Regions from separate parts of the Homo sapiens genome. Here region 1 is linked to region 2. Evidence: promoter capture Hi-C in human tissues and cell types (Jung and others, 2019). All regions are on one chromosome and are shown on one strand. Each heading gives the region's core, a stretch centred on a gene start or on the middle of the fragment in contact. The rest is flanking DNA. Distances are from core to core; before and after follow the strand shown. Region 1 overlaps UVRAG (UV radiation resistance associated). Region 2 holds the start of UVRAG (UV radiation resistance associated).

Evidence for each region. Contacts are between HindIII fragments. The study calls those that stand out against the background at their distance.
Region 1: a contact is called between a fragment that was not itself captured here and the fragment with the promoter of UVRAG in region 2, in 2 of the 25 tissues and cell types used here (H1 embryonic stem cells and hippocampus).

The regions. Positions count from the first base shown.
Region 1 is chr11:76,112,749-76,119,130 of GRCh38, forward strand. It overlaps UVRAG (UV radiation resistance associated), which reads left to right. Exons shown (of 15, transcript NM_003369.4): 14 at 3,176-3,267. Among named protein-coding and RNA genes, the nearest start is that of WNT11, 91 kb to the right of the region's middle. The HindIII fragment of the contact is 4,823 bases long and covers 1,468-6,290 here.
Region 2 is chr11:75,812,648-75,819,202 of GRCh38, forward strand. It overlaps UVRAG (UV radiation resistance associated), which reads left to right and starts at 2,563. Exons shown (of 15, transcript NM_003369.4): 1 at 2,563-2,877. The coding sequence starts at 2,761. UVRAG-DT (UVRAG divergent transcript) reads right to left here and starts at 2,150. Exons shown (of 2, transcript NR_144531.1): 1 at 1,816-2,150; 2 at 867-1,214. RefSeq lists enhancers at 674-1,873, 1,797-2,226, 2,097-2,391 and a silencer at 2,687-2,886. The HindIII fragment of the contact is 17,046 bases long and covers 1-6,555 here.

The DNA.
Region 1 (6,382 bases), core at 2,629-5,128, 300 kb after region 2:
AGGGTCTCACTCTTATCACGCAGGCTGGAGTGCAGTGGCACAATCTCAGCTCACTGCAGCCTCAACCTCCCAGGCTCAAGCAATCCTCCCACCTCAGCCTCCTGAGTAGCTGGGACCATAGGCAAGCACCACCATGCCCGGATAATTTTTTGTACTTTTGGTAGAGACAGTGTTTCACCATGTTGCCCAGACTCGTCTGAAACTCCACCCGCCTCAGCTTCCCAAAGTGCTGGGATTATGGGTGTGAGCCACCACACCTGGCCAGTTTTAAGATTTTTGTTAGAGTTTGGGGAGTATCTAGTGACAAGTACATAGAAAAGCTCAACTGGTGGAAAAAATGGCAGTTATCACTTCCAGTGAAACAAACAAAAAAGTACAAGAAAGGAATAATACATTACATGGCTCAGCAGTGAACAGTGTTTATGTAGGTATAGTGAGGTAAACAGTAAATATTGATTTAATTTAAAATATGATATTGAATGTATTGAGAAGATGAGGAAGGGAACTATGTGTGGGAGAGTAGAGTCAAGTTCTCATATTCTTTAAGAAAAAGCTAGTAGATAATGTATGGGAAAGGGGATAAAGTGTTTGTGTGAGAGCAAAGTGGTATAAGAGTGCTAAATTCTCTTCTTTCATGGTGGGAGCATAGTAGATGATGTCTCTAACTGGAGGGGAAGGGAGAATAAGAAATCTTAATATAAGCATATTATTCAGAAATATGAGGTAAAGAAGAAACAGCTAAAAGGTGTTCTCAGAGTTTGGGGTAGATAGTAGAGCAGAGAACTGCTTTTTTTTTCATTATAAATCTTGTAGTGGTTTAGACTTGTTAAACCATACTTATACTTTATTAATAATAATATATGTGTTATGTATGCATTTATTTTTGAGTTCCCTATGTGGAAAATTAAAAGGGTAATATGGTAGAATTTGGAGCTGTTATTAAGCGGTTCTAGCCTTGGCTTTGTCCCTTATCATCCCTGTGACTTTGGGCAGGATGCTCTTGTCTTCCTGGGCCTTAGTTTCTTCATTTATAAGAGGAAGAAGGTTGGAAAGATGGTCTCCAGGGTCTCTTTAAGCTGTAAAATTCAAAGATTCTATGATTTAAAAAAAAAATAGTACTATGCAGCAAATGGAGAGTTAAGACCCAGACAGAGGCTTGAAATTCCCACATTTTTCTTTTTTTTGGTTAAAATCAGACTTGGAGAGAAATTTTCACTGTGGTCTCTGAAAACAGTTCAACACCCATCTTCCGTTGTGGAACCTGGGGCAGGCAATTGTCTGTGTACTCACTCGGAGACACATAGCTTAGTGTTATTTCAGTAAGTTTTTTTTTTTCCTTGATGTTTAATATTTTTCGGTATGAATCACAGGTAAAATTTCCATGCCATGTGTAAACGATTTCACTTCTTATTGAAACAATGAATTCAGGAACGTCATGTTGGGATATCAGCCATTTTGCTTTTATCAATGTATGGAAAAATGCATTTATATTAATACAAGAAATGATGTCATTTAATATGGGGTAGATCTTATAATTCAAGGTCTGCAAATCTCAGGAGGTGATTTAGGTCACCAAGCTAGGTTTGAAAAAGGAAAAAACTATTTTCCTTCTGCTTTCTCAAGTATTGTTACCAGTTTTCGTCTCAGACTTTGGGGTAGGTGGTAGAGAGTAGCATGGTTTGTGAAAAGGAGGCCCTGGCTGATAATATCTTTGCCATTGAACCATGCGGCCCTGGATAATTTACTTCCCCTTTCTGGGGTTCAGTTTTCCCATCTGCAAAAGAAAAGGATTGGCTGAAATAATATTCAAGATACCTTTTAGTTTTAACATTGTATGTTTCTACATCCTTACTTTATGTGTGTATTCATTCAAACCATTCAGGAGACCCAGTTATGTTTGGAGGTTTTTCTTAAAAAGCCCAGAATCAGTGAGAGTGAACTCTTTCTCTAAGTATCACTCAAGCAGAGAAAAATCAGTTGAATTCTAGAGTCAAACAAAAGAAAACTGACTGTTTTTAGTAGGTGTTTATTTATGCCCCCTGTTGTCTTACTCTGAAGGCCTGCTTTCTATTCACATGATTTGTGGTTTTATTCTTTAAGAGAGGGATATATTTAAAAGTTTGACTTAGCCACTCTTAAATTTAAGTGCTAAAAGAGTTAAACCTTAAGACCGATGCCCCTTCACATTTGTACACAGACATACATTTTATAAAGTCTATAAACTTTCTTCATGTGTAATATGTCATTTGAAAAACACATTTTTGCAGAGCTGTGTTGTCCACTTACTGTGTGTTTGATGTGTGGATGAGCATGTGTGAGAATATGCACATCCACTTACTTCGGCTCTCCTTTATGGTCAGTTACGGAAGCAAATGGTGATACTCAGAGACACAGTGAAAGGAAGTGAAGAACAGACCGATGAAAACCATTAGCAACTTATCCAGAGTACTCAGAAGGACACTTAATTTTAGAAAATTGGCCTCTACCAGAAATAAATCAAACAAAGGGCAGATCTAGCCCACAAACCAGCAGTTTCCCTGTACCACCTCTCCAGCTATGTGCTCTGGTCTGGACAAAGAGGAACGTTAGAGACTCAAGAGAAATACAGAGCACAGCCTCTGTCAAAAGTGAGTTGCAATGTATTTGTTTAATAAGCATTGAATAAGTACCAGCACTATGCCAGACACTATTGGAGTCAGAGATGAATACAAGATGGTCCTTACCCTTGTTTATACAAAGGGGAGGGCTGAATGGAAGCTGGCAATATCTAAAAAGAAACACTGGTTTTCTGGTATATGTCCCTGGAGTTGGTGTTAGCAAACCCTACCAGGGTCTGGGGGTAGAAAAGAAGGCTAGATACAGGGGTCTTTGAAATATCCTCATTCCACAGTTGGTCACTCTTAGTCTTCTCTAAGTTTAGGGGGCAAGAGAACAGTAAGTAGATGAAGAGGCTACCTTAAATACCATCGTAATTTAAGTGGGTGTGCATACTCATACACGTGCTTATCTATATGTCAAATACCCAGTAAGTGGAAAGTACTGTGAGGCTGATAATAGTATCAAACATTTACATTTCCTCTTTTAGAGTTCAAAAAAATAACTTGTTTAGTGGTTCATTTTTCCGAAGCTTATAATCTGCCAAAATATCTTTAATTCTATTTTTTCACCTTCACAGCTAAGATATCAACATGGACTAGGGACTCCAGACTTGCGGCAAACCCTTCCCAACCTGAAAAACTTCATGGAGCATGGACTAATGGTCAGGTGGTGAGTACCTTTATCTCTGATAACCAGAAACTGTAATGTGGATAGGATCCTGAAAATCTTTTCTGACTTCCACATTGCTCCACACCTGCCTCTGAGTTTTCTTCTGTAATGAGATATGGGAGGAAAATGAAAGGCGCCATCACAGTTGGGGAGATCTAAGCTCCCGTCTGGCTAAGGAGGATGTAGCCCCCTTGGAGGGAGGAGGGGCCAAGGGGATATTGCTTGAACTTTGGGAAGGTGGCTGAGCAAGGAGCCCTTGAGGGCATTGCTGAGACAAACTGGAAGACAGCCAGTATGATTCATGGTAAGGGAGACCCAGAGCCCCTTGGACCTTTCCAAAGAACAGGTGAAGGGCCTGATTATAGAATGAGCATCAGGACCATGGCTGTGAGCATTAAAGGAAGAAAGCAGATAAGGAATAGGTCAGGGGGTCAGGACTTAGTTTGAGACCAGTAGGTACATTCTGAAATGTTTCTTGTGTGTGGTGTCAGTACCTGTTGAACCGTGAGGGCAAGCTGCTGCTGAAAGTGCTCCGTCAGGATAGACATGGACCTTTGAAAAGAGAAGGAGAGAGGGGAAGTCTGATAGAAAGAAGACATTAGATTCATTCACTTGACCTAAATGGAAAGTTGTTGGCTGTATCCATTTAGTAATTCTTGAAGTTTGAATCCTTGGGTAGTGGGCAGTAACTTACAAAATCACGTGCCTGGAAAGCAGGCCTGTAGAGTTAGACAGCTGGGGGCAGCACTGGCTTCTGATTCCAGGTATTTTTCTCATCATCTGCTGTGTGGATTTGAAATTCTACCTCTCTGAAATTTGATTTGCTCTGCTGATGTGCCTTCAGAAAAGTAAAAAAACTGTGGTTGGTCTTTACTTTGATTTTCAAAACGGCAAGTTCCAGATGTCTGGTCTTAGATAGGACTCCTGTTAAGCAAATACACAACTGTTTAAAGAATTCCACTCAAAACATCAAAATAATTATTAAAGCTTGGTGTTGATATGGACCCGGATGCCTTCAGGAATATGAGAGAGGAATTAAGTTTTAAAGTAAAGTAATAAGAATAATAAAAGTGAGCTAGCAGGTATTTATTTAGCTTGTCTCTGTGTAAAGCTCTGTGATAGGTGCTTTAGAGAGATGAGAAAGCTCAAGCCCTGTCCCCAAGAGATTTGTGGTCCAGTTGGAAACAAGGCACAGAATTCATGAAGAGGTTTTCTAACACAATGGTAAATAACCTAAAATAATGAGAAAATTGGCAACCTACAACACTAATTAATCACACTAAATGAATCTTGCTCAGTACAGATAGCAGATTGTCCCTGAACCATTTACTGAAGTGTCTGTCTTTTCTCCACTGATGATAATGGCATCTCTTTTGTAAACCAAGTTCGCTTATCCATAGAGATCCATTTCCAGGATCCCTATTCTGTTCTGTTGCTTTATTTGGCTAGCCATCGATTAGTATGACATTTTTAATTATTGTAAGATGTAATTTCTAAAAGTGTTGTTGAGATTTGAGAATGAAATAAAAATCAAAATGTCCATTTTACTATTGATAAAGCTACTTGGAAAATGGGGCTTTAGATCTGAAATAAAACGGGCTTGCAAAGATGTCACTCAAAATTGAACTTATCCTCATAATCACAATGTAAACTGGAGAGCCATAGGCTTTCCCTACAGAGGCAGGCCCTTAACTACATTGGCAGACAGCGATCAGGTGACTTTTCTTCAGGAGCCCAGATAGGGCTGAGCCAAGAATACCCAGTTGCTATTTTGCCCTCTAGATTCACCAATCAGGAAAGTCCCTCCTCCTCTGAGAGAGTGAGAGGATGGAGAGAGCCAAGAGTGTTAACTCCTAAAGCCATGTTCCTTCATAGGAACAGAAAAGGAAAATACCTCCAATTTTCTTGATATCTGTTAGGGAAAAGCTAACCTCCATATCTGTTAGGGAAATATCTGTTAGGGAAGGCTCTTCTTCAAAACTCTTGGCTTTTCTTGACTTGAGTCTTTGAGTGATTTCACAGTTTTATGACATTGGGTCTTCCTAACTATGAACATGTTACATCGCTTGCTTTTTTAAAACATACCTCCATGAGGTTTATAATTTTCTTCATAAAAGTCTATGCATCTTTTATTAGATATACTTAGTCCTATTAGCTTACAGTTTTGGTTGCTGTTGTAAATTTTTTTATTATAATAGTTAACATTTTCTGGCTGATGTACAGGAATAGCACTGATTTTTAGTATTTTGAGAGTGTGTTCTGGCTAACATTAGTTACAATAGTTTGTTTCGATTCTCTTGGATTTTTTGTGTATACAATCATATTTTTAGTGAATAATGGTATTGTTTCTATTTTTATAACTTCGTTACTTTTTCTTGTCTTACTATGTTTTATTACAGAACAGGAGCAGTGATAGTGGGTATCCTTGTCTTCTGACTTCAAAGAGAATGCTTCTAATTTTTCACCATTAAGTATTATATTTATTGTAGATTGGGGTAGATATCCTGCATTAGCAGAAGGAAGAATTTTTCTGTTCTCAGGTTACTAAGAGTTGTTTTTTAATCATGAATATGTGTATTTTGAATTTTACCATGTTTATTCTGAATCTGTTGAGGTAACACTACATTTTTCTAATGTTAAACCATCTTTGCCCCCTGGTCATGTGTATTATTTTTTCCTACATTATTGGATTCCTTGGCTAATATTTTAGAATGTCTCCATCTGCAAACTGAAATGAGACTGGCCTACAGTTTTTCTTTCACATAAAATCCTTGTCTGATTTTGGTTAGAATTGAGCAAACATGATGAGGTTATAAGAGCTTCATAAAATAAATTGAGGATCTTTACCTTCTTTTCTATTCTCCAGAACAGTTCATATAAGATAGGAGGAAGTATCTCTATCTTAAAGGTATGGTAGAACCTAGAAAAAAACTACTGTTTTTTGTTTGTTGCTGGGGAGAGTGTAGATTTTTAACTACTGATTTAATTTCTGTAATGCTTACAGGTCTGTTTCTGTTTCATTTCTCCAATTCCTAGTTAACTCACTCCAGTCTGATTTTTAGTTCTATGAGTATACTGAAATTCCTTTTATCTAGCTTGGTGCCTACCGAATTCT
Region 2 (6,555 bases), core at 1,313-3,812:
CTCTGCATTTCCAGAACCCAGTAGCTAGCCTGTGCAAAGGTGAACCTCAGTAAAGGCTTGTGGAAAGAATAGATCCTGCTCTCTGCTGGAATGTCCTTTCCTCCCTCTCTCCTGACTTGGTGAACTCTTATTGGCCCTTCAATACCCTGTTTCAATGTCACCTCCACTGTGAAATCTGACTCTCAACTATTTTCTCTGGCTCCCACTGCCTTTGGGCTTCCCTCAGACCCAGCAGTGAGTAACTGGATGATCACTCTTCGTTTGTTTTTGATATGGGGTCTCAGTCTGTTGCCCAAGCTGGAGTACAGTGGCATGATCTTGACTCACTGCAGCCTCAACCTCCCCAGGCTCAGGTAATCCTCCCACCTCAGCCTCCTCAGTAGCTGGGACTATAGGTGAAAACGACATGCTGGGCTAATTTTTGTATTTTTGTAGAGACAAGGTTTTGCCATGTTGCCCAGGCTGGTCCCAAATTCTTGGGCTCAAGCAAGAATTGTGATAATGTGTTATGGCAGCCTCAGAAAACTAATACAGCTTAGAAACAGAAATGTGTTTTCTGTGAAATTCCCCCAGATCTTGGCACCACATGAGTTCAATCAGATAATATTTGGGATTTCCCAGTGACTCCTTTCTCAACAAACACCTGATCAAGCGACTCCTTTCTCAACAAACACCTGACCACACGCCCCAGGCTCCAGCCATGAGGAACCACTCAGTGTGTCAGAACAGGAGACAGTGTGACATCTTTGTGATCCAGCTCTGAGAAAAGATCCAAGGTGTTTTTCAGGCTTCTGAACACCCTGGAAAGATAGTATGCTTACATTTTGTTTAAAAAATTTAAAATGCAACTACTATATGCCAGGTCCTGTGTGGGCACTTTACATATGTTGATTTACTTTAATCCCTACAGCAATCCTATTACTATTTTAAAGCTGAGAGAGGGGAAGTGACTTGCCTTGGGATACATAGCTCAAAGGTGGTAGAGCCAAGATTCCAAAGTGCCTGATTCCTATTGTGTCTGACTCTAAAACACTATGTTCTTTCTGCTATGTTCATCCAGGTGGTGGAAAAATTCAGTCTAGGAGTAAAAAAAGGAAGATCAACATCCTGCAGAATGACTCATGCTATTCATTATAGAAGCAATTGCTGGAGATGCTATCATTGTGGATCACGGAAGTCTTCATGGAAGAGGTGGCATTTGAGCTGGGCCTTCACTGCAAAAAAAAAAAAAAAAAATTTCCTGATTCTCTGTCAGGCACTGGGGATCCAGAGATGAATCAGACAAAGTCCTTTTGCTTGAAGAATTCACAGTATTTTGTGTGTGTGTGGGAAGGAGGGTGGCTGCTTACATGTGTTAAAAGACAATGTGGCCAGGCCTGGTGGCTCATGCCTGTAATCCCAACACTTTGGGAGCCCGAGACTGGAGGATCGCTTGAGCCTGGGAGTTTGAGACTAGTCTGGGAAATATGGCCAGAACCCCATCTTTACAAAAAAATTTTAAAATTAGCTGGGCCTGGTGGCATGTGCCTGTATTCCCAGCTACTTAGGAGGGTGAGGTGGGAGGATCACTTGAGCCCAGGAGGTCGAGGCTGCAATGAGCCGTGATTTTGCCACTGCACTCCAGCCCGGGCGAAAGAATGAGGCACTGTTAAAAAAAATTAATAGAATAATCCAGACCCACGGTAGGGTCAAAATTCCTAACTCAAGGTCCCAGAGAGGCTCAGAGAAGCCTTTTGGAAGAAGGGACTCCTGCCCCAGCTAAGACTGATGGATAAGTAGCAAAGGCTTTCTGGGGACACAGCACAAACAGCCCACCTGAAGCGGTGAATCGGCGTCCTGGGTGCCTGGCACACCTTGTAGCTCAGCTTACTAGCTAGTGGAGTGCGAAGGGGCGTGTACTTGTCGGTTGGAGCTGGTCATGAAAGAGCTCGTGGGACTGCCCGACGGTTCTCAGGTCCCAGTGCATCCTGCGTGGTGGCTCTCTGCTGAACCATAAAGCATTCCTTTTCAATCCCTGCACGCTCACGCCGGGAAAAGACTGCACAAGGGGCCTGCCAAGGCAGACAAGCGATCGCCACCCAGCTGGCTTCCGAGGGTCCCCGCCCTCCACCGGAGGCCTGTTACCACGGCAACCAGTGAGGGCGGAAGTGGCTCAGAAGACCGGTTCTCCCTAATCAGGTGACTCTCCCGCCTCCTGCACGTGACACCGGAGCCCAGAAGCGCGCTCTACCTAATCAAGACCCCACCCCTCTTTCCCTTTACTGACAATTGACAGCGACCTCTTGCAATGGCCCTTCCGCCTCCACCAGGAGACTCTGCCCGTTGGTAGTAAAAGAACCAATTAGACTGGGAAAAAAAGAAGCAACGCCCCAGGTTTCACCCCGGCTTGACAGACGCAATTGAGGCCATCCTTGAGTCCCTCCGCCCCCAAGTCCAGTAATGCCAGCGATGGACAGACCTTCTACCCAATAGCACGCCCCTTTTCTGCCGTTGGGTCCCGCCCCCTTGAGGGCTAAGCCAATGAGCGCTCCGGGTCTCAGCGGGGTGGAGGGGTTGCACTGCGGTAATATGGCTCTTCCTTAGCCAGCGGCGGCAACGGCGGCAGCGGCGGCAGCGGCGGCGGCTACTGTCTGGGCTGAGCAGTAGTGCCTCTCGGGTGGCGGGTTTCTAGGCTGCAGGGGCTTGGTAGGTGGTGGCAAGGGGGCGGCGGCGGATGCCGGAAGAGTGCCCGCCCCGCCGCTTGGCGGCCCCTGGATCGAGATGAGCGCCTCCGCGTCGGTCGGGGGCCCCGTCCCCCAGCCACCCCCGGGCCCGGCCGCTGCTCTGCCTCCCGGTTCTGCCGCGCGGGCCCTGCATGTGGAGCTGCCGTCTCAGCAGGTAAGCCCGCGCGGCTCGCAGCACTCGGGAGGGACCCGGGCAGGCCCGCGTGGAGAGCTTGCTGGCTCCGGGCTGACCCCGCGAGCCGGGACACCCAGAGCAGGGACCCGGAGGGCTCGCGGGACTGAGGAAGACTGTCAGGAGGTTTGTGCGGGGAGGGGTCCAGTGATGGCCGAACCTCCGGGAGATCCCGGAGTCCTAGGAGAATCCCGTTACAGGAGATGGGCTTGTTAAGGGACAAGCAGCCAGCCAGCTCAAGTCCCTGGGGCCCCGGCCCGAGGCCGCCTCCCCCAACGCAGGGAGCCGGGGATTGCCCCGCGCAGACCCTCTCCCTCGTTCCGCCCAGGAAGGGACCCGGGGAACCCCCTGTGTCCCACGGGCCATAGTGAAAGCACTTTTCCTTTCTTTCCCCACCTGGCCATCCCCGCTTACGGAGAAACCAGTTTGTACTCTTCGTGCAAGAGCCCTGGAGGAGACTTTAGGGTGTCTACCATTTGCTTTAATCTCCCCTGATTATTAAGTATTCGGCCTCTTTAGAGAAATGTATTCAAGACTTGGGGGTTTCCTTCCTAATTCTCCGAGTCCCAAGGAACGCATCTTAATAATTAGGAGGACTTTTTCCTTCTTCATTCCCTTCAGTGAGTCTCTGTGGAAGGAGGATTTGATGTATATATTCATGTGTTCCTCCATCCTTTAGGAAGGGCTTTGAGGACTTCTTGGCTCTGCGTTGTAGGAAGATAAGAAGGGGGAAACACTGACTTTGGAGATGTGACAAAACTCTTTGTTTCACTCACATATCTGTAGAGTACTTCCCTCCTTATATCGGTTGCCTTCCTTCTGTCCCCCAAGGGGAGATTTTGCAGGAATCTTAGCATTAAAGAGACCTAAAGAATACCTTTCACCCTCTCCCTTTATTCCTCCTGCCAAGAAGAGGATCTAGAGAAACTGTCATTTACTGAGAACTTACCGTGTTGGATTTGTGCAAAGGGCTCAGTGGCCATTAGTTCACTGAATTTTCACAACTCTGTGAGATAGCTGTTTTTATTACCCCCATTTGGCAGTTGAGGAAACTGAGGCTTGTCCAGAGCCTTCCAGTTAGTAAGTGGTGGGGCTGGGTTGCAGAATCCAGTGTCTGACTCTGCAGCCATGCACGTGCTTGAGACTTGGGCAGCCTTCCTCCACCACCTTTACACAGGACAGAGTGAGTTCTTTCATACACCCCTCCAACTTTCCATCAGCTACCAGTGGGACTTAGGAAGGATTCAGAAAGAGGAAGGGAGAGGTTGTAGGGGAGAGAGTGGTTGAAAAGTGAAATGGATTTGAGTGCAGTAAAGGAGGCGGGGGCTAAAGGGAAGAGAAGAGTTGGAGATAATAACCACTGTGGTTGCCTTTGAATAGGCAGGCAGAAGAGCTTACAGTAGCAACGGCTTTTTGTGTGACTACTACCGAAGAGGATTGAAAAGATACCATGTGCCCTGGTTTTGTGATGCTGTTGGCAGGGAATTTCTGAATAGTGGGAGTTTGAGGGTAGTGGGGGTTTGGATTGTGTTGTGAGATACAGGGAGAGGGTAGAAGTCTGGCTAGGGAGGGAGACACGTCTCTGGAGTGAGCATTAATGTGAGTTTTTGTATGTGTGGGAGGTAGAGTGTGAGAGTGGTTACTGGGAGAGGGAATAGGGAGCACCGTTAGAAACACCCTGGAGAAGTCCTAAGGAGTTCAGGGGCCAAGAAGGTTTTAGTTTGGGGGAGCTTCGAGAGTGTGTGGGATTAGGAAAGAGAAAGCATCATTTACTTCATGGAGCCTATTCTCTGATAACAGTTCACAGTTTAACACTGGGAAAACTAATGCAAACAAACTGTTGATGGAATAATTTCAGCCTCATTTGTTAGTGTTTGTGAAATTTTTGGATTGGTGCCGAGGGATATATAGTGGCTTAAGTGTACAGCTGAATGCTATATGAGTGCCGAGTATGCTATTTACATCTTTCTGGGGGTGTCAACCTTGAATTCTTGGAAGGCAGCCTATATAACAAAGCACTTTTACTTTTGCAGTTGACATCAATTTATCTTTTGGGGTCAAAATGCTCAGATTTTTAGTGTATAAATAATATCAATAAAATTTTGTTGAAGTTTTATCTGTATATAGTAAAGTACACAGATTATCAGTATTCAGTGGATGAATTGTCACCAAGGGAACAGTTATGTAAGTACTACCCAGATTAAGAGATACAAAATTTTGGCTGGGCGCAGTGGCTCACACCTGTAATCCTAGCACTTTTGGAGGCTGAGGTGGGGGGATCACTTGAGGCCAGAAGTTCAAGACCAGCCTGGCCAACATGCTGAAACCCTGTCTCTACTAAAAGTACAAAAAAAAGAAAAAAAAAAAAAAAGCCAGATGTGGTGGCGCACATTTGTAATCCCAGCTACTTGGGAGGCTGAGGCAAGAGAATTGCTTGAACCTGGGAGGCGCAGGTTGCAGTAAGCCGAGATTGCGCCACTGCACTCCAGCCTGGGTGACAGAGTGAGACTCTATCTAAAAACAAACAAACAAACAAACAAACAAAAAACCCCCCAAAAACCCCAAAATTATTAACATCCTGGAAGTCCTCCTATGTTCTCTTCCATCTCTGTTTTTCCTTTTTCTCTAAAGGAACCACTTTTCTGATTTCTAATGTAAAAGATCAGTTTTTGCCTGTTCTTGAGCTTTATATAAATGGAGTTGTGCAAAATGTATTTTTTTGTGTCTGGTTTCTTTTACTCAGTATTGTTTGTGAGAGTCATGGAGTATCTGTGTATGTCTAATGTTTTTTTTTTAAGTATTACTTTGTTGCCTTTTTTTGCTTTTACAAAATTTCAAATATTTAGATAAATTGGAATGTCAGTTGTTAACTTTCCTTTAAATAATACTTTCAAAACCATACATTTTAATACATCCCGTACTAGTTGGCAAGGTATCAATTTTTTTTTTTTTTTGAGATGGAGTCTAGCTCTGTTGCCCAGGCTGGAGTGCAGTGGCGCGATCTTGGCTTATTGCAACCTCTGCCTCCTGGGTTCAAGCGATTCTCCTGCCTCACCCTCCCAAATAGCTGGGATTACAAGCACCTGCCACCACGCCCAGCTAATTTTTGTATTTTTAGTAGAGACGGGGTTTCATTGTGTTGGCCAGGCTGGTCTGGAACCCCTGTCCTTGTGATCCTCCCACCTCGGCCTCCCAAAGTGCTAGAATTACAAGTGTGAGCCATTGCGCCCGGCTGGTATCAATATTTCTAAACAAATAAACAAGCCCGGTTGGTTTAGGATTTTTATGATCAAGTTATCTCAAAACATAGATTCAGTGGCTCCCAACCTTCTTCTAAGATGGGGTTTGTCAACCTTGGGACTGTTGACATTTTGGAGTGAAGATGGGCTGTTACATGTTTAGCCACATCCCAAGATATCAGCAGCACCTCCCCAGTCCTGACAATCAAAAATGAGTTCAGACATGGCCAAATGTTTCTTAGGGGGCAAAATTACCCCTAGTTGAGAACCACCTTACTAAGGTGTATTTTCATTTTAGGATAGAGAGTATCCTTGTTATTATTGACTCATTTATTTCAATCTTCATTAAGTCCTGTTGATTCTAGAAGTGGCTGTAATGTTTAAAAAGTTAACACTGCAAACACCTGAACTTTTCCATGTA